6 separate regions of the Homo sapiens genome follow, and all the other regions are linked to region 5. Evidence: promoter capture Hi-C in 16 types of primary human blood cells and fetal thymus (Javierre and others, 2016). All regions are on one chromosome and are shown on one strand. Each heading gives the region's core, a stretch centred on a gene start or on the middle of the fragment in contact. The rest is flanking DNA. Distances are from core to core; before and after follow the strand shown.

What was found. Contacts are between HindIII fragments. The CHiCAGO score rates a contact against its expected background, and 5 or more counts as called.
Region 1: a contact is called between a fragment that was not itself captured here and the fragment with the promoter of MRPS6 in region 5, in 1 of 17 cell types (neutrophils). The highest score is 5.1, in neutrophils.
Region 2: a contact is called between a fragment that was not itself captured here and the fragment with the promoter of MRPS6 in region 5, in 6 of 17 cell types (non-activated CD4 T cells, activated CD4 T cells, monocytes and 3 more). The highest score is 7.4, in non-activated CD4 T cells.
Region 3: a contact is called between a fragment that was not itself captured here and the fragment with the promoter of MRPS6 in region 5, in 1 of 17 cell types (neutrophils). The highest score is 7.8, in neutrophils.
Region 4: a fragment that was not itself captured here is called in contact with the fragment with the promoter of MRPS6 in region 5 in 1 of 17 cell types (neutrophils); the score reaches 5.2 in neutrophils.
Region 6: a contact is called between a fragment that was not itself captured here and the fragment with the promoter of MRPS6 in region 5, in 2 of 17 cell types (non-activated CD4 T cells and neutrophils). The highest score is 5.6, in non-activated CD4 T cells.

Annotation. Positions count from the first base shown.
Region 1 is chr21:34,306,530-34,310,532 of GRCh38, forward strand. No RefSeq gene overlaps it. Among named protein-coding and RNA genes, the nearest start is that of KCNE2, 55 kb to the right of the region's middle. The HindIII fragment of the contact is 1,361 bases long and covers 1,623-2,983 here.
Region 2 is chr21:33,918,332-33,922,056 of GRCh38, forward strand. It overlaps the pseudogene RN7SL740P. Among named protein-coding and RNA genes, the nearest start is that of ATP5PO, 4.4 kb to the left of the region's middle. The HindIII fragment of the contact is 5,747 bases long and covers 1-3,725 here.
Region 3 is chr21:34,248,520-34,251,998 of GRCh38, forward strand. No RefSeq gene overlaps it. Among named protein-coding and RNA genes, the nearest start is that of LINC00310, 70 kb to the left of the region's middle. The HindIII fragment of the contact is 3,804 bases long and covers 1-3,266 here.
Region 4 is chr21:34,224,079-34,227,690 of GRCh38, forward strand. No RefSeq gene overlaps it. Among named protein-coding and RNA genes, the nearest start is that of LINC00310, 45 kb to the left of the region's middle. The HindIII fragment of the contact is 4,907 bases long and covers 1-3,612 here.
Region 5 is chr21:34,072,274-34,076,012 of GRCh38, forward strand. It overlaps MRPS6 (mitochondrial ribosomal protein S6), which reads left to right and starts at 1,305. Exons shown (of 3, transcript NM_032476.4): 1 at 1,305-1,472. The coding sequence starts at 1,428. It overlaps SLC5A3 (solute carrier family 5 member 3), which reads left to right and starts at 1,305. Exons shown (of 2, transcript NM_006933.7): 1 at 1,305-1,472. RefSeq lists silencers at 753-1,272, 1,563-1,962 and an enhancer at 1,216-2,166. The HindIII fragment of the contact is 10,607 bases long and covers 1-2,003 here.
Region 6 is chr21:34,203,695-34,207,264 of GRCh38, forward strand. No RefSeq gene overlaps it. Among named protein-coding and RNA genes, the nearest start is that of LINC00310, 25 kb to the left of the region's middle. RefSeq lists an enhancer at 1-961. The HindIII fragment of the contact is 2,626 bases long and covers 17-2,642 here.

The DNA.
Region 1 (4,003 bases), core at 1,053-3,552, 240 kb after region 5:
CCTTGGGGAACAGCCCTTTATATAGCGCAAGTGATTAGTCATTGCCAAATAAGCAAAAAGACTTTAAAAACTTAGTGTTCAGAAGTATTTAGTGGAAAAAGTAATAAATAAACCCAAGGCTTATTATTCCTCATCTATGGATAAAAACTCAAAGACTGCCAGACACTACACAGTCATAGGATGGCTTTCCCATAAAAAGAGAAGGGAGGGAGAGTGACAGGCATAGGAATGGTTGCCTGTTTCACCTCCCCATGCTCCTCTGACCCAGCCTCAGTTGGGCCTTAGGATCATCCAGAGACCCTCCCCAGACTAATTAAGTCAGAATCTCTGGGCATAGGGCCAGGGCATCATGATTTCTTTAAACACTCCCCTGAACTATTCCAGTGACCAGCCAGGGTGACAGCAAGAACCTTGTCAGTTTGTATCCCACCTCTCAGGGAATGAACTTCTGGAAGTGAATTCCCAGTCCCCAGTGGCCACATCTCCACAATGTCCTGTTGCTTGGTCTAACCCAATGAGATAGACCCCCAGTGTAAACCTGTGCACCTGTCTTCCTCCCCATGGGGGCTTCGTCAGACACCAAGAGGACGTAGCAGTGCTGGAGAGAGGGGCTAAGGGAACTCCAGGTCCATGGCCATGGTGGTCTGGACTTCTTTAAGCCCCAGAGAGAATGGACTTCTGGTGGAGCTGCCAAGGTGAGAACCTAGTTTCTCAAGGACAGGTCACAGGTCACCTGGCAGCTACCCCCCTGCCTCCTGGAATCGGTGATCCAATCCCAGCTGCTGCCTGACCAGCTCTCTCTCCTAACCCTGCTCCCCACGCCAGACATTTTGCTTACCCCAACCTAGTGAGTGATCATCCTGCATGACCCCTGTTCCCCTTACTGCCATCCTGAACTCTGCCTTAGGCTAAAATTTGGATTCAGATCAGCTGTCTGTGCTCAGGCTCCCCGGCCTTCTGGTATGGAGTCCCCCAAGCAGAGATCCATGGCTTCCTCTGACCCTAGGGGTCTGTCTGTCTTCCAGTTCTGGTGTTTTCCAGCCCCCTCATTCCCCCTTCTGCCTAAGCTTTGCTCATGACATTTTTCACAATTGTCTCATCCAAGGTTTCCACAAGGAACCAGATCTGGTCCCCACAAGTGTGTGGTGAGCTTTAAACAAACACTCACAGTGCCATGATGGCCACCAACTTTAGCTCCCAGGGAATGGGTTGAAAACTCAGAGCAGAAGAAAATGTGGTTTCCGGCATCAGTCTTATAAGTGCATAAGTATCCTGGTGAGTGGTAAAAAGAACCCCAGCTGTTTATTTTACTTCTCCCTCAACTCAAGTTGAAGACTTCTTGCCTATAAACTATGAAGATGCAAATTACTGTGGCCATTTTGTGGGCTTTTCTATTATAGCAACCACTCATTTTTATGGTGGTTCAACATTATGCAATTTTGAAATTTTAGGTGAAAAACTTGATGAACTCTCAGCATTCCTGTTTACACCAGTGGAATTTTACCAAGCTTGGGAAGGGCAATTGATCCGGACACTTGTGGAAACTACAGAGAACCAGCCTTGGGCACACCTTGGTGTCCACTGTGGCATGCTCTTGCGGTCAGCAGCTAGAGGCTGCAGGAAGCTTGTGGAGAGAAATTTCCCTAGGGTCCTGGCCTGGGGAGCATACTTTAGCTTCTCACAACTCAAAGTGTGGTCCAACGACCAGCAGCATCACCTTCATCTGGGAACTTGCTAGACATGCAGAGTCTCAGGCCCCACCCAGACCTACCGAACCAGTCAGGAGATTAACAAGATCCTGAGGTGACTCAGGTCCCATATTTCCTGTTCAAGAAGCAGCAGTGTTTTCAGCCCCTTCTTTCTCTTTCCCTGAGTGTTACTATTCTCCCTCAAGGAAATACTTGATCCAATAGCCCCGTTTACCTAAAAGCCAAGAAGACAATGATGACTGGGTGTCACCTGGTTCTCAGGTTGCCTGTCAGGAGGGCAGTGATCCTGTAATGAGGGTGGGTGGGGGCAGGGCAGGCCTTCGTAGATATTGTGCCCGCAAGAGATGTGTCCTTCTGCAGAGGTCAGTGTCATCAGGGGTGAACAGACAGGAGGGTGTCTGCCTTCCCCTGCTAGCCCTCCACATCCGTGAGAACTTTAGCATAAGTACTCTGCCCCCCACTGCCCTCATCTCGTGCACCTACACGGCAGAAGATTTTGGGCTGAGGTTTCCTAACCCATCAAATCACAGATTTTTTTTTGAGACAGGGTATTATTCTGTTGCCCAGGCTGGTGTGCAGTGGCATGATCACAGCTCACTACAGCCTCAACCTCCCGGGCTCAAGCCATCCTCCCGCCTCAGTCTCCCAAGTAGCTGGGATTACAGGTGCTCACCACCACTTCTGGCTAATGTCTTTTGTATTTTTAGTAGAGACGGAGTTTTGCTCCATTGCCCAGGCTGGTCTCAAACTCCTGGGCTCAAGTGTTCCTCCCGCCTTGGCCTCCCAAAGTGTTAGGATTATAGGTGTGAATCACTGCGCCTGGCCAAATCTTAGCTTTCTCAGTTCCTTTATCCTTTGCTCATGTAGGTGGGCATTACCAAAACCCTACATTATCTGACAATTGTTTACAATAAAATGGATTGTTCATGAAGTATGCTTCCCTATCCATTCAGATGGTTTCACATTTGGTTATTTCACTGCCCAGTAGCTCCTCTTCCAGGAGGGAGATGAGGGAGACGAAAGGAAAGGAGGGATTTTTTTTGACTTATTTGACTTTGACTTATTTAGGCGGTTCCATGAACTCAGCAAAATAGTCCTCCCCACCCCCAAATTGTTCTCATTTAGTCTGCATAATCATAAATAACATATCCAACACAAAGTTTTGGGAATTTGTCAGGTTTTCTCCATGTTTGTTTCACCAGTGATAAAATAAGGAAGGCAGTCACCTGTAATGCAGTGGTTCTTACCTGAATGAAGACAGGGCTCACTTGGGAAGCTTTTTAAAAATACCAATGCCCAGGCCTGCTTCCAGCCCTATTAGGTGGGAGTCTTTGGAGGTAAGGGCAGGCAATGGTATTGTTATCAAAGCTCTGCAGGTGATTGTAATGGAGAACTCTTAAAATCATTAGAAAGTTGAGAACCTCTGGTCTAGTAAACTAGTCAAGAGCATTAGTTCCCAAACTTTCACACACATCAGAATCTTTCCAGAGGCATATGGGGCTCAAGAAGTTATTTGTTTATTTTGAGACAGAATCTGGCTCTGTCACCCAGGCTGGAGTGCAGTGGCGCAATCACAGCTCACTGCAGCCTCGACCTCCTGGGCTCAAGCAATTCTCCCAACCTCAGCCTCCCTAGTAGTGGGAACTACAGGCGTGTGCCACCATGTCTGGTTAATTTTTGTATTTTTTTGTAGCGATGGGGTCTCGCTATGTTGCCCAGGCTGGTCTCCAGCTCCTGGGCTCAAGTGATCCGGCCATCTCGGCCTCCCAAAGTGCTGGGATTAAGAAGTTGCACCTTTAACAAGTTCCCAGGTGCTGCTGATGCTGCTGGTCTTTATTCTGGGACCAACTTTGAGAATCATTGGTCAAGAGATCTAAGATGAAATTCTAACTCTGCTGCTAAGTTGTCATATGATTTGAATAATCAGTATCTCCTCTTTGATATTCTACAACCGGAATAGGCAAACATTTTCAGTAAAAGGCCATATAATAAATACTTTTAGCTTTGCAGGTCATACGGCCTCTGTTGCAACTTCTTAACTCTGCCATTGTGGTATGAAAGCAGTCATAAACAACGCCTAAACAAACAGCATGACTGAGTTCCCATGAAACTTCATCGAGGTGGCAGGATCTGCTGACCTCTGTTCTACAGTCTCATGAGTGATGTCTCTAAGTGAGGATTTCTTTGTACTTATCTAATTTGGTGCTTTTTGGACTTTCTGAATCTGAGGGTTGATATCTTTCATCGATTCGGTAAGATTCACGGTTATCATCTTCTTAAATACTGCCTTTTCT
Region 2 (3,725 bases), core at 748-3,247, 150 kb before region 5:
ATTATTCTATGATTTTTGAACATAATTCAGATGATTTCCTTTTTTCTTTTTGCTATTTTAAACAATACTGAATCTTCTAAGCATATTTAGACATATATTTCTCTTCTTTCTTTTTTTTTTTTTTTGAGATGGAGTTTCGCTCTTGTTGTTCAAGCGACTCTCCTGCCTCAGCCTCCCAAGTAGCTGGGATTACAAGCATGTGACACCATTCCCAGATAATTTTTTTGTATTTTTAGTAGAGACAGGGTTTCACCATATTGGCCAGGTTGGTCTTGAACTCCTGACCTCAGGTGATCCACCCGCCTTGGCCTCCCAAAGTGCTGAGATTACAGGCATGAGCCACTGTGCCCAGCCTTCTTTTTTTTTTTTTAAAAAAAAAAGAAATGGTGTTGGCTCTTTTGCCCTGGAGTACAGTGGCTATTCACAGGCATGATTCCCACTAATGATCAGCATGGGAGTTTTATTTTATTTTTATATTTATTTATTTATTTATTTTTTGGGATGGAGTCTCGCTCTGTCTTTGAGGCTGGAGTGCAGTGGCCCAATCTTGACTCACTGCAACCTCTGCCTCCTGGTTTCAAGCTATTCTCCTATCTCAGCCTCTAGAGTAGCTGGGATTACAGGTGCATGCCACCACACCCAGCTAGTTTTTGTATTTTTAGTAGAGATGGGGTTTCGCCATATTGGCCAGGCTGGTCTTGAACTCCTGACCTCAGGTGATCTGCCCACCTTGGCCTCCCAAAGTGCTGGGATTACAGGCATGAGCTACCATGCCCGGCCTAAAAATGGTAGTTTGGACCTACTCTGTTTCTGACTTGGCTGGTTCACCTCTCCTTAGGCAACCTTGTGGTCCCCTGCTCCTGGGAGGTCACCATATTGATGCTTAATTTAGTGTGGACACCTGACCGGCATGGTGCACTACAGCTGAGAGCTCCTGGACTAAAGCAATCCTTCTACCTCAGCCTCCCAAGTAGTTGGGACTACAGGTGCACACCACCATGCCCAGTCATTTTTTTTTTTCATATTTAGGAAAATTTCCGAATAGATTTCCAGAATTTACACAACTTGGTGAGAGAATATGAGTACTCTAAGAGCCTCTGATGCATGAGGCCAAGCTGCTTTTCAAAATTTTAACCAATTTATACTTTCCGTAGCAGCACATGAAAACCCTTGTTTCACTCTACTCTGCAAACTTTCAGAGACTATTTTCAAATAAGCCTAATGAAAAGTATTCAACACATTATTTAACACAATTTATTGAGCAGCTATTACATGTAGCCAGCTGTTCTATTCACTGAGGCTACAACAGGATACAAGACACAGTGCCTACCTTTATAAACTTTATATTCTATGAGAAATTAAACTGCAAAACCTGTGTTTTCTGAAGTGTGGGTGTTAACAGATGTAATACAAATAAAAAGTTCTAGGGTCAACTATACTTGGGAAACTCTAGACTCTGAATATAATTCAGATGGTTTCTGCTTTTTGTTTTTTTTTTTGCCATTTTATTTTATTTATTTGCTTATTTTTTGAGATAGGGCCTCACTCTGTTGCCCAGGCTAAAGTGCAGTGGCACAGTCATGGCTGAGTACAGCCTCAGCCTCCCAGGCTCAAGCAATCCTCCCACCTCAGCCTCCTGAGTAGCTGGGACTACATGTGCACACAGCCACACCCAGCTAATTTTGTATTTTGTAGACACAGGTTTTTGCCATGTTGCCCAAGCTGGTCTCGAACTCCTGAGCTCAAGCGATCCTCCTGCCTTGGCCTCCCAAAGTGCTGGGATTATAGGTGTGAGCCACCTTGCTTGGCACCACCAACCCCCACTTTTTTTTTTTTTGCCATTTTAAACAATTCTGAATCTTCTAAGCATCTTTTTTTATATCTAGAAAAATTTTGAAATAGATTTCCAAAACTGACACAACTTGGTGAGAGAAAATTGAAAAGCTGCATGGAAAATTAATTATAAGGAGAAAAAAGGAAAAAAAATTAATTATAAGTAAACTGTAAGGTTGCACAGCAGCAGAGAAATACCCTCTGTTTATTTTGTATTTACCCAAGGATGATCTCAAACTCCTGGCTTCCAGATCCACCCACCTCGGCCTCTCAAAGTGCTGAGATTACAGGTGTGAGCCGCCGCGCTTGGTGCCCTGCCCCCAACTTTTTGACATTTTAAACAATTCTGAATCTTCTAAACATATTAAGACACACTTTCTTTCATATCTAGAATAATTTCCAGCCACTTGCACATCTCCAAAATAGTGGTTTATGGTCATTTCAATTTTAGGATTTGTTAACTGGTTGCACATATATGGTTTCATTTTTATTTTGAGTTTTAGGATGACTCGAGATGTAGATGGGCTTGGTATTCCCCCATTTTATAGATGGTGAAAACGTTTTGGATCCTGCTTACGCAGCTTGTCTAGGAAATGGCAATTTGCATCTCAAACCCAGGCACCTGCACCAAGTCCCATCTCTTTCCATCTCTATGGTTGAAAGAATAAGTGAATCATTCAGGATGTGTTTCTGGAATGGGATTTTGAAGCTAGCCTGTATTTTAGTGGTGTGGGCAAAGGGAGAAACACAGAAGCCCTGAAGCCTGATAACACTGCATCCACACCTCCCTCCTGCCTGCTCTTGGATTTCTGGGTGCCTGTAGGCAAATCACTGTGATGTCAGGCCAGGGCGCCATGTGCAAACTCCCATGTGGAGGGAACTGGCAGAAACTTCCCAGCTGTGACACTGCCACACCCTCTGCTATGCAAGAACAGAGCATTTGGAAAGGAACAAAAAGTTGTATCCTATAAGGGAAGAGGCCGGGCGCTGTGGCTCACACCTGCAATCTAAGTACTTTGGGAGGCTGAGGTGGGCAGATGGGCTTGAACTCAGGAGTTCAAGACCAGCCTCGGCAACATGGTGAAACAATGTATCTACAAAAAAAAAAAAAAAAAAAATTAGCTGGGCGTATGGTCCCAGCTACTTGGGAGGCTGAGGTGGGAGAATCACTTGAACCCTGAGGGGCAGAGGTTGCAGTAAGCCAAGATCGCACCACTGTGCTCCAGCCTGGGTGACAGAGTGAGACCCTGTCTCAAAAAAAAAAAAAAAAAAACAAAAAAAGAAAAAGAAGTGAAGAGACTTAGCACTCTGCAGTTATCGCGCTTTCTCTCTGCACAAACTCAAATCATTTAAAAATGAGTTATTTTAATATTTTAGTAGTTGAGGCCAATGGAGTCAAAGGTACTTGCCCAAGGCCACAGGGCAAAACTCGGACATCTAATCTCGATGTTTTTGTTTACACTGACCTTCAATTCAAAATAAATATTGCTCGCTGTTTTATTTTCTCTACAAAGAAACCATATGCAGTGGTAGAAATGAGCAGTGTGGTGGCATCAGACCCTCACTGTACATGCTCTTAAAAAAGTGACTCAAAGGCTTAAAAAGTGACTTAAAGCCTCACACCTGTAATCCCAGCACTTTGGGAGGCCGAGGCGGGCGGATCACCTGAGGTCAGGAGTTTGAGACCAGCCTCGTCAGCAGGGTGAAACCCCATCTCTACTAAAAATACAAAAATTAGCCAGGTATGGTGGTGAATGCCTGTAATCCCAGTTACTCAGGAGGCTGAGACAGGAGAATCATTTGAACCCGCGGGGCGGAGGTTGCAGTGAGCCTAGATTGTGCCACTGCACTCCCGCCTGGGCGACAGAGTGAGACTCCACCTCAAAAAAAAA
Region 3 (3,479 bases), core at 115-2,614, 180 kb after region 5:
GTTCAAGGTCTCTTCCAAGGCATACTTATGTTTGAGCTCAGAGGAGTTGAAAGAACTGCTGGAGCCAGGACCTAAACTCAGACAAAAGAAAGAGAGCCCCAGCATAGCACCCTGCTGCCCCTGCCTGGCTTCTAAGCCTCTGTGTACCTCTGAGCCTCACCCTGCCTCTTGGGTACCACAGAAGAAACACTTCTCAGGAGAGACCATCTGGAGAAGGAGAGCTGAGGAGTTAGGCTCCCCTCAGAGGGGGTTCTTTAAAAATTCTGAAATGATGTCATTGAAAAATATGCACACACACAAAAACAAAACCCCCTCTGAAAACCACATTTTGTTTCTAGTTATAAATTGAGGATAATAACATTGTGTTTGATTTTCAGGGTTTTTATGAAGATTAATTTTTATGAAGAGTAATTACTTGGTTAATTAATTCAGCAACTCAACAAATATATAACAGAATGTTTTCCATGTCCCAAGTATTATTCCAGATACTCAGAATGGTGGAGCACAAGATCCAGAAAATTTCTCCCCACATGGGCTTGTATTCAAGTGAAAAGATGTACTTCCTCTGCAGGAGCTAAACCTTTCTATGGTTATAATTAGTGTGCAGAGGTGGGCTACTTTTTTCACTGAATTTATGTCATATGCACTGTTGCATAGGTTTTAGTCACTCCAGTATTAAATAATTTAATTGCAACAGTTTACTTAATCTTGCCTAATTGATGGGCATTTTGATGTTTTCAGTTTTGACCATTATGAAGAGTTTCTGTAAACCATTCTGTATAATTAACTTTCAACAATTCTTTTGAATTATTTCCACAAAATAAATTCATAGGAGGGGATTTGGGCTAAAGGATGTGAATTTTTTTTTTTACTCTTTTTAGATAATACCAGATCACACTCCAGAAATTATCAAATCAAATAACTATCAACAAGGTTTTTTTTTTATACCCAGCATTCCTAGCATTGGTTTCTTGATCATTTAATTCCTTTTTGCTAGTTTCATAGGTACTTGAATTTTATGAAGTTGAACATTTTCTTTCATGTCATATAAACAAATCTAGTTACATTGGATTAAGATGTGGTAATGACATCTCAAAAGTTGTAGTGATGGCCAGGCATGGTGGCTCACGCCTGTGATCCCAGCACTTTGGGAGGCTGAGGCAGGAGGATCACCTGAGGTCAGGAGTTTGAGATCAGCCTGGCCAACATAGTGAAACCTCATTTCTACTAAAAATACAAAAATTAGCCAGGTGTGGTGGTACATGCCTGTAGTCCCAGCTCCTCGGGAGGCTGAGGCAGGAGAATTGCTTGAACCGGGGAGGTGGAGGTTGCAGTGAGCGGAGATCGTGCCAATGCACTCCAACCTGGGCAACAGAGCAAGACTCTGTCTAAAAAAAAAGAAAAAAAAATTGTAGTGACTTAAAATGACAAAAGTTCATTTCTTTCTCATGCTAGATTCCCACTGTGAGTTGAGCTGTTCCTGTCCTCATTCTAGGGGCCAGACGGTGGGGCAGCCACCGTCTGAAACGCTGCTGGTCACTGAGGCAGTAGACAAGGGAGAGTAGCAAATTACGTATAGGTTATTAAACAGTCTGGCTGGAAGTTACACATGTTACTCCTGCCATTTCATTGGCCAAAGCAAGTTACATGGCCATATCCTACTTCAAGTGCAAGGGACCTTTGATTCTATCATGGGACCAAGAGAAGATACAGAAAAACCAGGAAGGTAGAACTAATGACCATCACATCATGGTTTAGTATTTGTGAATTTTCTTTTATAAATTGACTATTTATCCTTTTATTGCCTTTTGGTATGCAGTGATCCAGAGAGAAGAGTATAACGTTCTTTATTTGATGCTTTTCTCTGGGAATGTTATGTTCTCACATCATCACCCAGTGGAACTCTGATATGGCCTTTCCTCTTCTTCCTGTTCTTTTACCAACCCAAGATCAGCATTAACTGGGGGTGTTTCTTACTTTGTCTTCCCTTTTCCTTTTTGCTAAGTCAGAATGACAACCTTGAGAAGCATCCAGTCATCTTTTCCCCATTCTTAGTGCCTGGGCATTGCTCTTTCAGGTTTTCCTGCAGTTTTCAGACTAATTGGCATGAAGCCTGAGGAGTCACTTTGAGCCAAAATGTCAATGGACCTAACTAAGTGGTGATTACAGGATAGTGAGTTACTTGTTCCCTTTCAAAGGCAAGCCAGTTTGGCTTCACTTCTGGTTAACTGGTGCTTCCTTTGATGTCACTCGCGTAAAAGAGAGTGTCATTAAAAACAATCAAAGCGGCCAGGCGTGGTGGCTCCCACCTGTGATCTCAGCACTTTGGGAGGCCGAGGCAGGCGGATCACGAAGTAAAGAGATTGAGACCATCCTGGCTAACACGGTGAAACCCTGTCTCTACTGAAAATATAAAAAATTAGCTGGGCTTTTTGGCGGGCGCCTGTAGTCCCAGCTACTCAGGAGTCTGAGGCAGGAGAATCGCTTGAACTTGGGAGGTGGAGGTTGCAGTGAGCTGAGATTGTGCCACTGCACTCCAGCCTGGGTGACAGAGCGAGACTCCGTCTCAAAAACAAAACAAAACAAAACATAAACAAAAAGAACAATCAAAGCATATTTGTGCTCCATTTAAAAAGCCATTTGGTGCATTTTTCATTATCTGACCGAGAGTATGTATTTGCTTTAGATAAATGCAGATCTAATTTTCCTTTCAATATAAACCTGAGAACTCTAATGAGCTGACTCGTGTCTTTCTCATTGGATCTAGCACTTCATGTACACACTAATTAGAAAAGAAACAGTTTGATGAGGTAAAGATGTGGTTTCCATTGGGGGCAGAACTTTCAGGAAAATGATGCTGTTCTTAGTAGGGATTCCTAGCACTGGCTGGAATATCCCCATTTGGGGAGGAGGATCTCAAATACAGAAAGAGGGAGGAATCACTTATGGTAAAAGAACAATGTGTGTGTGTGTGCATGTGTGTGCACATGGGTCTGGGAGGCCACACAGATACTGGCAAAAGAGAAGCTGAGAAAGTCAACTCCACCCAGTTCTGGAGAGGCAGGTCCCTAGGACACATCTCTAGCGGCTGAATACTGAGAAATGCCTGCTTGGGCAGTGGGTTTAAAGGGGGGACAGGGCTCTCTTCCACTTGCTCCCAGGGTGGGTTAGGAGCTTTGCAACAAAAACAATGGGGTCTATAACTCTTCCTGTCTCACCTGGCCCAGTGGTTTGTAGCCCTAGCTACACATTAGAATCACGGGGGAAGCTTTGAAAAATATTGATATCCAGGCCCCATCCTCTAGAGATTTGTATTCAGTTGGTCTGGAGTGAAGCCCGGGCTTCTGCATTTTTTTTCCAGTGAACAAGGTTGAAATCCAATGAAGCACAAATGTATCATGCCCCTTCTTGTGCCCAATGTGTCAAAATATCCATTCACCATCAAACAACCACACTTGGGGGTGTTTGTTTTTTTTTTT
Region 4 (3,612 bases), core at 807-3,306, 150 kb after region 5:
GAACAGTGCCTAGCATGGAGCCTCAAGAGCTCCACCATATAATATTTACGGCATGGAGGAAGAACCCATAAAGAGACCGAGGAGTGAAGCTAGAGAAATAGGAAGAGAAAACGGTGTGAAGGAGCCAAGGGGAGAAAGTATTTGTGAAATAAGGGAGTGGTCAGCCTGTTTCTGTGACACTGAGAGGTCCAGTAAGATGAGGCCCCACATGTAGCCATTCTGTTTAAAACGGAGATGATTGGAGACCTTATTAAGAATTGTTTCCTTAAAGTGGTGTAGTGAAAGTCTGTGGGAATGGGGTCTGGGGTCAGTGGCAGATGAGGGAGACACAAGGAGTGTGGCCACAAAGGCAAGAGTAAGAGAGGCCAGGTGCAATGTCTCATGCCTGTAATGCCAGCACATTGGGAGGCCTAGGTGGTTGGATCACTTGAGCCTAGGAATTCAAGACTAGCCTGGGCAACATGGTGAGACCCCGTCTATATCAAAGATACAAAAAACAAAAATCAGCCAGGCATGGTGGCATGCACCTGTAATCTCAGATACTTGGGAACTTGAGGCATGAGGATCATCTGAGCCCAGGAGGTTGAAGCTGCAGTAAGCTGTGATCGCACCACTGTACTCCCACCTGGGCAATAGCGCAAGACCCTGCCAAAAAAAAAAAAAAAAAGACAGTAAGAGAGGATAGGAGCTGGAGGAAGAGGAGGGTCTTCTGGTCTCTCCTTCCCTCCTCTCCCCTCTCCCTTTTCTTTTTCTTTTCTTTTTCCCTTTCCTTTTTCAAAGATTGCAGCCATGGTAATTTTTATTTATTTATTTATTTATTTATTTAAGACAGTCTTGCTCTGTTGCCCAGGCTGGAGTGCAATGGCATGATCTCGGCTCACTGAAACCTCTGCCTCCCGGGTTCAAGTGATTCTCCTGCCTCAGCCTCCCGAGTAGCTGGGATTACAGGTGTGCACCGCCATGACAGGCTAATTTTTCTATTTTCAGTAGAGATGGGATTTTGCCATATTGGCCAGGCTGGTCTCGAACTCCTGACCTCAGGTGATCTGCCCACTTCAATCTTCGAAAGTGCTGGGATTACAGGTATGAGCCACTGTGCCCACCTGCAGCTAGGGGATTTAAATGCTGATGGAGGAGATGGAAGGAACAAGCTAGAGAGGATAGCTGGTAGCACCAGGCCCTCGAGAAAGCAACAGGCACAGGGCACAGAGGGCATCTGTGAAGGAGCTGGCCCTCTCAGCAGGAGGAGGGAGAGGTGGGTGCAAACTCAGGGACATCTGTTTGTAGATTTGGTGAGACAGTTTGTTCTCTTTTCTCAGTACAGTAGATGACAAGGTCATTTGCTGAATGTGAAGGAAGGAAGGAGTGGTTTCAGACGTGGTGAGATTGGAGAAGGTTTGAAGTATAAATTGTGCAAAGAAGAGCCTGTATTGACCGAAGGAGCCCTTTGTGGTTCCAATTACCAGGCAGTCCTGAGGGCATAGCCAAGATGGGTGGCTGTGCAGTTCTGGGATGTCCCTCCAGCAGTGATCTGCTGGCCAATAGCAGGTGTAGAGAAAGTGGATGATGACATCCACCCAAGGCTTGAATTTTGCTAGATAGGTGAGACGTAAGGACAGAGAGGAAGGGAATGTCTAGTACAGACAGTCTCTGACTTGTTCCACTTATGATTTTTTTGACTTTGCAATGGTGCAAAAGTGATATACATTCAGTAGAAACTGTACTTCCAGCCCCCATACAGCTATTCTGTTTTTCACTTTCAGTACAGTATTCAATAACATACAAGATACCCATCACTTTATTATAAAATAGGCTTTGTGTGAGATGATGTTGTTCAACTGTAGGCTAATGTGTTTTGAGTGCATTGAAGGTAGGCTCAGCTAACCTAGCATGTTTAGCTGGTTAGGTGTATTAAATGCATTTCTGACTTACGATATCATCAACTTAGGATGAGCTTATCAGGATGTAACCCCACCATAAGTCTAAGAGCATCTGTATTTGGAGGAGAGTAATTACAAGATTGGACTATTGAATGTTAGCAGGATAAAATGGAAGGTGAAGCGAGTAAAAGTAATAGATAAGGAATATCTGGGGGGGTGGTCACTGGACTGAAGGCCTCAGTGGGGATGAGAGAGAGGTTAGGACAGGATGCTGTGGTCAGAGAGTGGGGAACTTGGGTTTGAGATTTAGGAGTGAAGGAGCTCTGAGTCTTGGCCAGATCCCAGCAGTGAGCATGGGAATGGGTGCTGAGGTGGAAGAAGAGAGGTGGTCACTGATCATGGGGCGAACAAGGGGCCGAGGGGCCAGGACCTTGGCTGGGCCTTACACAGGGATGCTGAGGCAGCAACATGAATGGGGGTGGAGAAAGTTGTGAACTGTTTGCTAAATATTGGTTGGATGAGGAAAGGTGCTAAGAGAAGTCCAGAAATGTCCTAGACAAGGGCAGTGAAAATCCAAGATTGACCTTAGATCTAGTTGAGCAGCTAATTTGCAGGACTGTAATTTCCAGACCACACAGAGAAAAAGTCTGGAAGTGACTCTATGGAGCCAGGAAGACAGGAGCCCAACTTCTGGTTCCAAAAGTTTCCATTTGAGAGGGCTGCAACAGACGCAGTATCTCTTGGTCAGCCTGGGGCAGCTGGGTCTCCTCAGCATCTCCTGGTGAGCTTTTAAAATGCAGATTCCAGGGCCTTACCCAGGCTAATTAAATCTGAAGGTTTAGGGCAAGTACCTGGGCACAGGGCTGCTCCATGGCCTTGGACCTGGACAGTGGAACTCAGATGGGCCCTGTGCTTGTTTTAATGCTCTGCTGCTGCCATCTTGAAAATCCTTAATGTTTGTTGAATAAGAAAGCCTGCATATTTGTCTTGTGCTTGGCTTCAGAAATTAGGTAGCCAGCCCTTTCTGGGCAGAAGTATCTTTTTAAACATTTCCTCAGGGGATTCTGATGTGAAGCCAGGGCTGGGAATCACTAAGTTAAGCCAAGAGTCGGAGGGAACATTCGATGAGATGGCTGAGATGCAAAGGTAGAGAGTTTGCGATCATGGAGCAAGAATTTGGAGAGCAGCATCGGAGGCAGGAGGGAGAGGGGGATGGCAGATTGAGTCAGGAGGAAGATGGGAGAGGGTATGATGGGAGAGGATGGATGGGTATGGAATTCCCACTCTAGGTTTCCACTTGGTTCCTTGGAGAAGGATAAGTGCTTTGGCATAAGAGAAGTCTGCTTCAGCCTGAAAGGAAGACCCAGTGGTGGGTGGGGTGTGGAGCTGGAGATCCTTTGCCTTGAGGTCTTCTGGGGAGTGCATGTGTACAAAGGTGGGCTGGGGCGACGGATAGGAGAGCAGGGCCTTTGCAGGGCTGGGCATGAGTGTGAGCAGCCTGGTCACATGGCTTTGGGCTGGTTGTGCTGCATATAGGAGTTGTGTGTTTGGGAGGGTCTCCAGGTCTCCTTGGAGCTGAGTGACTCATGATGTTTTGGCTGGAGGACAAGAACTGGGAGCTGCCGTTACATAGATGGGGCATAGAGCAATGTCAGTCTCAAGTGTGGATAACTTGGAATGTTCAGGGAACCTTATCAGGGATGTGGCATGTCCATGGGAATCCTATTTTTCC
Region 5 (3,739 bases), core at 55-2,554:
CAGATGGGCCTAGCATGAGATTCAGAAGCCTGACTAAAGTTTGGCCAAGCAAAGAATCTTTGTCACCTCAGGGCTGTTGTGAGAATTTTAGGAGACACATCCACCAGCCTTGGCATGGGGCCTGATGCAGAGTAAGTGTTCACTAAACTTTACCTATTAACGTTAAAGCACTTTAAGTTGACAAACACTCCACGTACAGAGCTTTTAATGGGGCAAACAAGGGGCAGAGGCCTCAGCTGCAGGGTACTCAACCTCTAAGGAAGGGCGCTGGAGAAAACTGCACTTGCAGAGCCCCTGGCTGGAGGGCGGAGAACCATGTGGGTGTAAAGGGATGGCAAGGGCAGAACGTATGCCCCTGCCCACCTTAGACAGTTGCTAAAGGGTCTCCCAGGCACTCAGCCTAGCCTTTAAGTGAAAGCGGAGGAAACATTTAAAGAAATGAGATAGAGTTAAGGTGTTCGCCTGCCCTCCGCTGAAACACGTGGGGGCAGGTCAGGGGCACACCACAAATGCCCGTATCGCGCCTGTGTGTACCAGGCACCGTCCTCGGAGGTTAACGTGCAGTAACTCACTCGGGTCCCCACTTTCGGCACAGGCAGCAGGCCCAAGGTCACGCAGTGCCAAGGGACTGAGTCAGACCCGAGCCCGCGCGCCGCGGCCCACGGCCTGTGCCAGCGCGCTCCTCGCCGGGTAGGGGGCCTGGTCAGCCGCGTCAGACCTGAGAGTTGTGGCTGGGGGCGAGAGCTGCACCCCCCTACCGACCCCGGGCGGGAATGTTCCAGAACCCCTGCGAGCAGCCGTTGGCCGCACAGCCCCCGGGCCGGCCGCGACCCCGCCTTGCGCCGCGAAGGTCCCTAGCTCCGGGGAGTCGCGGGCGAGGGGCACGCGCACGGACGAGACCGCACCGCAGCGCACGCGCACTGGCGGGCACTCACTCGCCCGCCGCCCGGGAGGAGAAGGAAGGCATGGAAAGTTCCAGCCGGTTCGAGAGCTAGGTAGCAGGCATGGCAGGAGGCGGGGTAGGGGCAGGCAGGGTCGCGAGGGGGCGTGCGGCCGCCGCGAGCCGCTCTGGGCCGCGTCTGCAGCACCGCCCCTAGCCGCGGCCGGCGGGCTGGGCTGGGGTCGGGGCGGGGGCGGTGCGGCGGGTGCGGGGCTGCGGAGGGGGCGTGGCGGCCGCCCGCGGGCGGAGAGGGGGCGGGGCGGCGGCAAGGCGCGCGGGCGGGGCGGGGCGCGCCGAGGGGGCGTGGCGCGGCGTCTGCGCAGCTGCCAGCGCCTTTAAGCCCGGGCTCGCGCTCTCGGACCGTGCTTTCGCCGCCTGGGAGCCGTCCGGCGCAGCAGTTTCTAGGTCCCCACTGTCCCCGCCGTCCCGCCCCTTCGCGTCCCGGGAACCGGCTGGCTTCCGAGCCGCACTCGCCGATCCTCCAGGCATGCCCCGCTACGAGCTGGCTTTAATCCTGAAAGCCATGCAGCGGGTAAGTGACCTTCCCTCAGAGCCGGTCTTCCCGCGCGGGCGCCCCCGCTGCCGCTAGGCCGCCGTCCCCCGCGCGCCCTGGCCGCGGGACCCCGGGCCTTCCTGCACTCCTCGGAGGAGGCCGGGGCGGCGGGCGGGCGGCGGGCGTCCGCGGGAAGGGGGCGCGCGTGGGCCGGCCGGGCCCGGCCGCGTGCGCGCGGGAGGCGGGGGTGTGCCTGCGCGTGTGCGCGGTCCGGGAGGGTGTGCCTCGCAAGCGGCCCGCCGGGCGGGGGGCGGGGCGGACCGAGCGGGCCCCGACCCCGATCCCGGCGCCGGCCCGCGGGAGTCCAGTGGAAGGTCCGCGGGAGGACACGCGCGGGCGCCCAGCCCGACTCCGGCCCGTCCCCGCCAGTCGTGAAGCTGCCTCGTCGCCGGCCCCGCCGCCGCCGCCTGGTCCGTCCCGCTCCGCCGCCCGCCGGCTGCCGCCGACCGCCTCCGCTCTAGCGCCCGCCGGCCGCCCGGAACGTCCGCGCCCAATAAAGCGTTCCTCCAAAGCTTGTTTGTGCCGTTGTCTGTATTCCAGTCTCTTGCAATCGCTCTCATGTTAAAAAAAAATCTTTTGACTTTTCTTTTTCTGACTTCAGCGAAAATCCCGCTCCGGGTGCCCTTAGCCCAGTTTCATTCATCCAAGTTGTGGCCTTTCTTGCGCCTCCAGAAGACACTTTCTTCCCCCTGCTTTTGATTGATCTTGAGGTAGGGGATTTCAGGTTTGGAGGGATGCTAAGCGAACCAGCGGCCCCTTTCAGGTGACGGCGTGGCCAAGGACAGGGGCCCGCGGCCCGGAGGCAGCTCACTTCGTCCTCTGTCCTGGGTCATGTACTCCTCAAGTCGTCGCCGAAATCCCCATTCTCCCGTGAATTCGGAATTCGGTAACGTAGTTTGGTGTTATGTTTTTTTTTCTCCACCAGGTGTAATAAAACAAAAATCATTGTACCACGTCCGAACTTTGTAAGCACAGCTTCCTACAGCGCTAGAGGAGTGGACGCATTTTTACGTTTGAAATTAGGCTCCAGGTCAATTGCGAGGAGTATTACCAAGTTTGGTTGAACTTAAGCTCAATTGATAAACTAACAATCACGGAGCGTCGGGAGATTGTTAGGAAGTGTGCTTTGCATATTGTTAACTGGGAAGGGACGCCAGTGCCTCTCTATGAGGTCCAGACAGCCTGGCCAGGCATGCCATTGTGTCCCCCAGCTTGTTCTTCATGGATTTGGAAGAAGTTAAGATAGTATCTGTTCAGCCTCTTGAATATCCCTTTTGGCCCTCCTCCTTGCTTACCAGCATATGTAACTCCGAAAGGATAGGAGCAGTGAAAACAAAGCATTATTAAAAGGGAAGATTTTTAATTAGGTGGAAGTTGTTTAAGCCCTCCCTTCAACTTACGTGTTTTAGGGAATGTGGAACCTGGGAAATTCGTTACTGAAATTCCTTTTGTTTACTTTCCTTGTCTTGGGGAGGTAGCAGGTGACACTGAAAGAGGCAACCTGTAGGCAATAATATTTGCTCATTCTGTAACCCTTTGAAACCTTTGAAATGAAGACTTGCCCTCCCCTTTGTTTTTGCCATAGTTGCCAAGTATCTTGGTTAACATGGCTGCAAGTATTAAGTGTATTTCTTTTACCATTTTTTTTTATGTCCTGTAATAACATAGCCTTTGGATGTGGAGCACCCATTTTTCACTCTAGTTCAGATCAACAGAGCGTAATTTGGTTAAAATAATAAATAACCTTCCTTGAAATCTTCGCATGAGGGAAGGGGGGCAAAAAAAAGAAAAAAAGCCCTAGAAAGTAGATAATAAAGGTGAACTGCCTCTTGGAGAAAGAGGCCCCATGGCAGTAGATAGAAGGTTGTAACAGTGGTGACTTATGTACAATGGCGAAGTTATGTTGAGGAGATCCTTGACCTAAATAAAGTAATATTAAACAATAGCTTCTCAGTTATTTGTTCAAAAACCTATCTGTAGCTTGTAAATGTGGCACAAACACAAAGACTTCCAGGTTTTAGACCAGTTTGCTTGCTTTCAGTTTAGGAAAATAGGATTCTAAAATAGGATGAATGTTTGGGGGGAAACGAATTTAAAAAGTTAACTCTAGGCTTATGAAATGAAAAATGCGACTGTGAGCTTGCACACCGGTAGCAGGCCTTGGAGAAACCACAGTTCTAACCCGAGGCACTTTGTGCTTCTGTTGCAAGAAGGGTATTGAAGCTCCTCAGTTCAAAGTTGCGTAT
Region 6 (3,570 bases), core at 80-2,579, 130 kb after region 5:
AGCTCTGCTCTTAGAAAGCTTAGATTGGAGGAGACCGGTGATAAAATAAATAGGAAAAATCTTTTTTTTTTTTTTCCTGTTTAGGCAGTGGTAAGTGATATAGAGAAAAAGAAAGCAGGAAAGGGGGATGGGGAAATGCGGGGTGAGAGTGCTTTAGAATAGGGTGATGAGGAGGCCTCATGGAGAAGATACTCTTTGAGCAGAGACCTGACAGGGAGATGGGGGGGTGAGCTCCATGGATTTCTAGGGGAAGAACATTCTAGAAGTGGGCAGCCAGCAAGTGCAGTGGGTCTGAGGGGAGACGGTGGCCTTTCCTGTTGGAGGAACAGGAAGGCCGGCACTGTCCTTGGAGGGGTATGAGTGCCAGGGTCAGAGGCTGATGGGGGGGCAGGTCCGGATAGAGTTTGTAGGGCCTTGAAGGTGACCTGAAGGGCCGACTTTTGCAGTGAGTGTTCCTGACAGCTGGGGGGGGGCACGACTGAAGCTCTGCCTTGGGTCTTACCTGGCCGTAAGGCAACTCCATTTTTAGCTTGGATCCTGGCAGGCAACCAACAAGCATTTATTGCAGGGCTGGCTGTGTGTTCTCGGCTGCGCTGGGAGCTCTGTGAATATCCGGAGATATAACAGGGATCCTTAGCTTTGGGGAGGCCACAGACTTGCTGTGAATAGAATTTAGCTGCAAAAGGCAGTTAGTGACCAATGCAAGACTATTCGTGTCACTCGCTGCATTGTGTGGAGGGCCTAGAAGCATGAGGGAGGCTGGGGTTTTGGGAACCCCAGGGGCAACCGGGACTATGCTGGGATCATGGTAGGTGCTTTACTTGTTTGCGAACAGACTGAGTGATTCTGAGTTGCATACTCAGGGAGCTCTTTGTGGCTAATTAAGTCCTTTTCCTACCCAGGCCCAGGTGGCCAGCAGCCCCTGGCAGCCGCGCACATGCTGCTCAGTGTTGCCAGCGCACAGCAGGGGCTGCTGCAGATGGTCCTCCAGCCACAGGGTGATAAAAGGCCTCCTGAAGAAGTAAATGACCCTGCTGGTTGCTGTGTGGAATGTTTCCCCCAGGGAAATTAAAAAATGGAATCCAGTGTCCAGGCCTCAGTCTCATGTCTTTAATAGGCTAGTCAAGATCCTGGGGCCAGGGCCTGGGGGCAGCTTCTTCCTGCTGGAGAGGCCAGTTTCCTTTCCCAGTCTCTGACCCTTCTCGGTTTTGGAATCCTGCTTGAGACCTCTCAACTCTCACCAGGCGAGGAGGGTGATCTGGGGTAGAGAAATGACATGAAGTCATTTCAGAAAATCCCACAATGCCTCATCACCCAGAATCCTTTGCGGAGCTGGCTGGCCGGCCCTGGGCTCCCTTTCAGCTGCTCTAGAATGTAGCAATGGTGGGCTCCTTTGGGGGCCATCTAGAAGCACCCTGCCCCTGGGCACCTGCCTCCTCACTGGAGGAGACCAGAGGCCACGTCCCAGCCCTGTGCTTCCAGCTCTGGAACTGCCCTTGACTTCACTGGACAGGCCTGAGCAAGTCGTGTAACCTTCAGGGACTCAGCTATGCCCACTCCAGGCTCTGTGAAACCAAGACAACCTCACGTGCTCAGTTCCTCAGCTCTGCAGGAGCCAGGCTGCTCTGGGGTAAGGAAAGGGAGAGAGAGGGATATTGTCCTATGCTTCCTTCACATAGCTGAACGTTTTATTTATTTAACTTTTTGGATAAGTAATGCATTTTATGGTTAAAAAAATCAACAAGTATAAGACATTACACAGTGAAAAGTGTCCTTTCCCATCTGCTCAATTCTTTTCTTTCTTTCTTTTTTTTTTTTTGAGACGGAGGCTCAGTCTGTCACTCAGGTTGGAGTGCAGTGGCATAATCCTGGCTCACTGCAACTTCTGCCTCCCAGGTTCCAGCAATTCTCTTGCCTCAGCCTCCCAAGTAGCTGGGATTACAGGCACCTGCCACCATGCCCGCCTAATTTTTGTCTTTTTGGTAGAGACGGGGTTTCACCATACTGGCCAGGCTGGTCTTGAACTCCTGACCTCAGGTAATCCACCCACCTCAGCCTCCCAAAGTGCTGGGATTTCAGGCATGAGCCACTGTGCCCGGCCCCCATCTGCCCAATTCTTATCCCCCACCCTAAAGGCATAGCCACTGTTATTAATTTGTTGTTTATCCTTCTAGAGTTTTGTGGGATTTTTGCACATACAAGCACATGGAATATGTTCTTCCCCCACTCCCAACTCTTTTTCTACTTGATTGCTAATACACAGTACAGTGTTCCTTACCTCACTGTTTTCAGTTGACAGTGCATCTTAGAGATCTTTTCATCATAGTACATAAACCATTTCCTCATTTTTCTTTACTAGTGCTTCTTGCTGTCTAAAATATGCCCAAACAATCCCCTAGAAATGGACATTTAAGTTGTCTGCAGTATTTTGCTTTCAAACAATGCTGCTGTGGACAACTGCAATTCTTCGTTCAGCACACAATTATGTTTATGCATAAGGTAAATTCCTAGAAGTGAAACTGCTGAGTCAAAGGGTAAATGCATCTCTAATGTGGACAGATGTTGCCAAATTAGCCTTTACAGGGGGTATGCCAATTTATGCTCTCAGCAGCAATGTATCAGAGAGAGTGCCTATGTTTCAAAGCTTACCAACAGACTTGGCTTTTAAACTTTTGGATTTTTGCCATTCGATAAATTTGAAAAAACCAGTATGGTTTTAATTTGTATGTTTCTCATTGTGAGCTCTCCATATCCATGCCCACTTTTCTATTGGTTTGTTTGCCTTTTGACTCATCAATTTGCAGAAGCTTATTATATACTAGGGAAATTAATCCTTTGTGATGTGAGTTACACATCTTCCTCATTTTGTCATTTGTTACTGATTTTGCTTAGGGTGTTTTTTTTTTCTTTTTCAATTGCTTTTTGCCATGCAAAAGCTTTTGGTTTTCATGCAGTTGAAATTATTCACCATTTATTTCGTGGCTTCTAGATTTTGAGTTGTAGTTAGCAAGGCCTTCCTCATGCTCCCATTTTTGTTTTAGTATTATGTTTTTTCTTTTTACATTTAAATCTTTGACCCAGTCAGAATTTATTCTACTATAAATGTGAAGCCCATATTCAAAATCCAAAAGTGGTGGTTATCAACACCATTTATTGAATAATCTGTCTTTTCCCCATGTAGTTGAGTGCCATCTTAATCCTAAACAAAATCATTGCATGATTTGGATGTTTTCCAGGGTTTCAATTCTGTGCTATATGTCCGTCTAATAAGTAATATGCCACTACTATGTTTTAATTGTTGAAGATTTTAAATATATTTTAATATATAGTATAACTTCCTCATTTATTTTATCAGAAATAGCTGGTCTATTCTTATTTTTCCATGTAAAATTTAGAATCACTTTGTATAGATAAAAACTTCTTTTACTGGGATAACAGTTATATGTTAACATTTATAAGTTAAGGGAAATTGACATCCCTACGAAGCTAAGTCTTCCTAAGAACATGATGGGGATTTTTATTTTTCAAGTCTTTTTGTTGTTGTTCTGAGTGTTTAAAAGATTTCTTAAT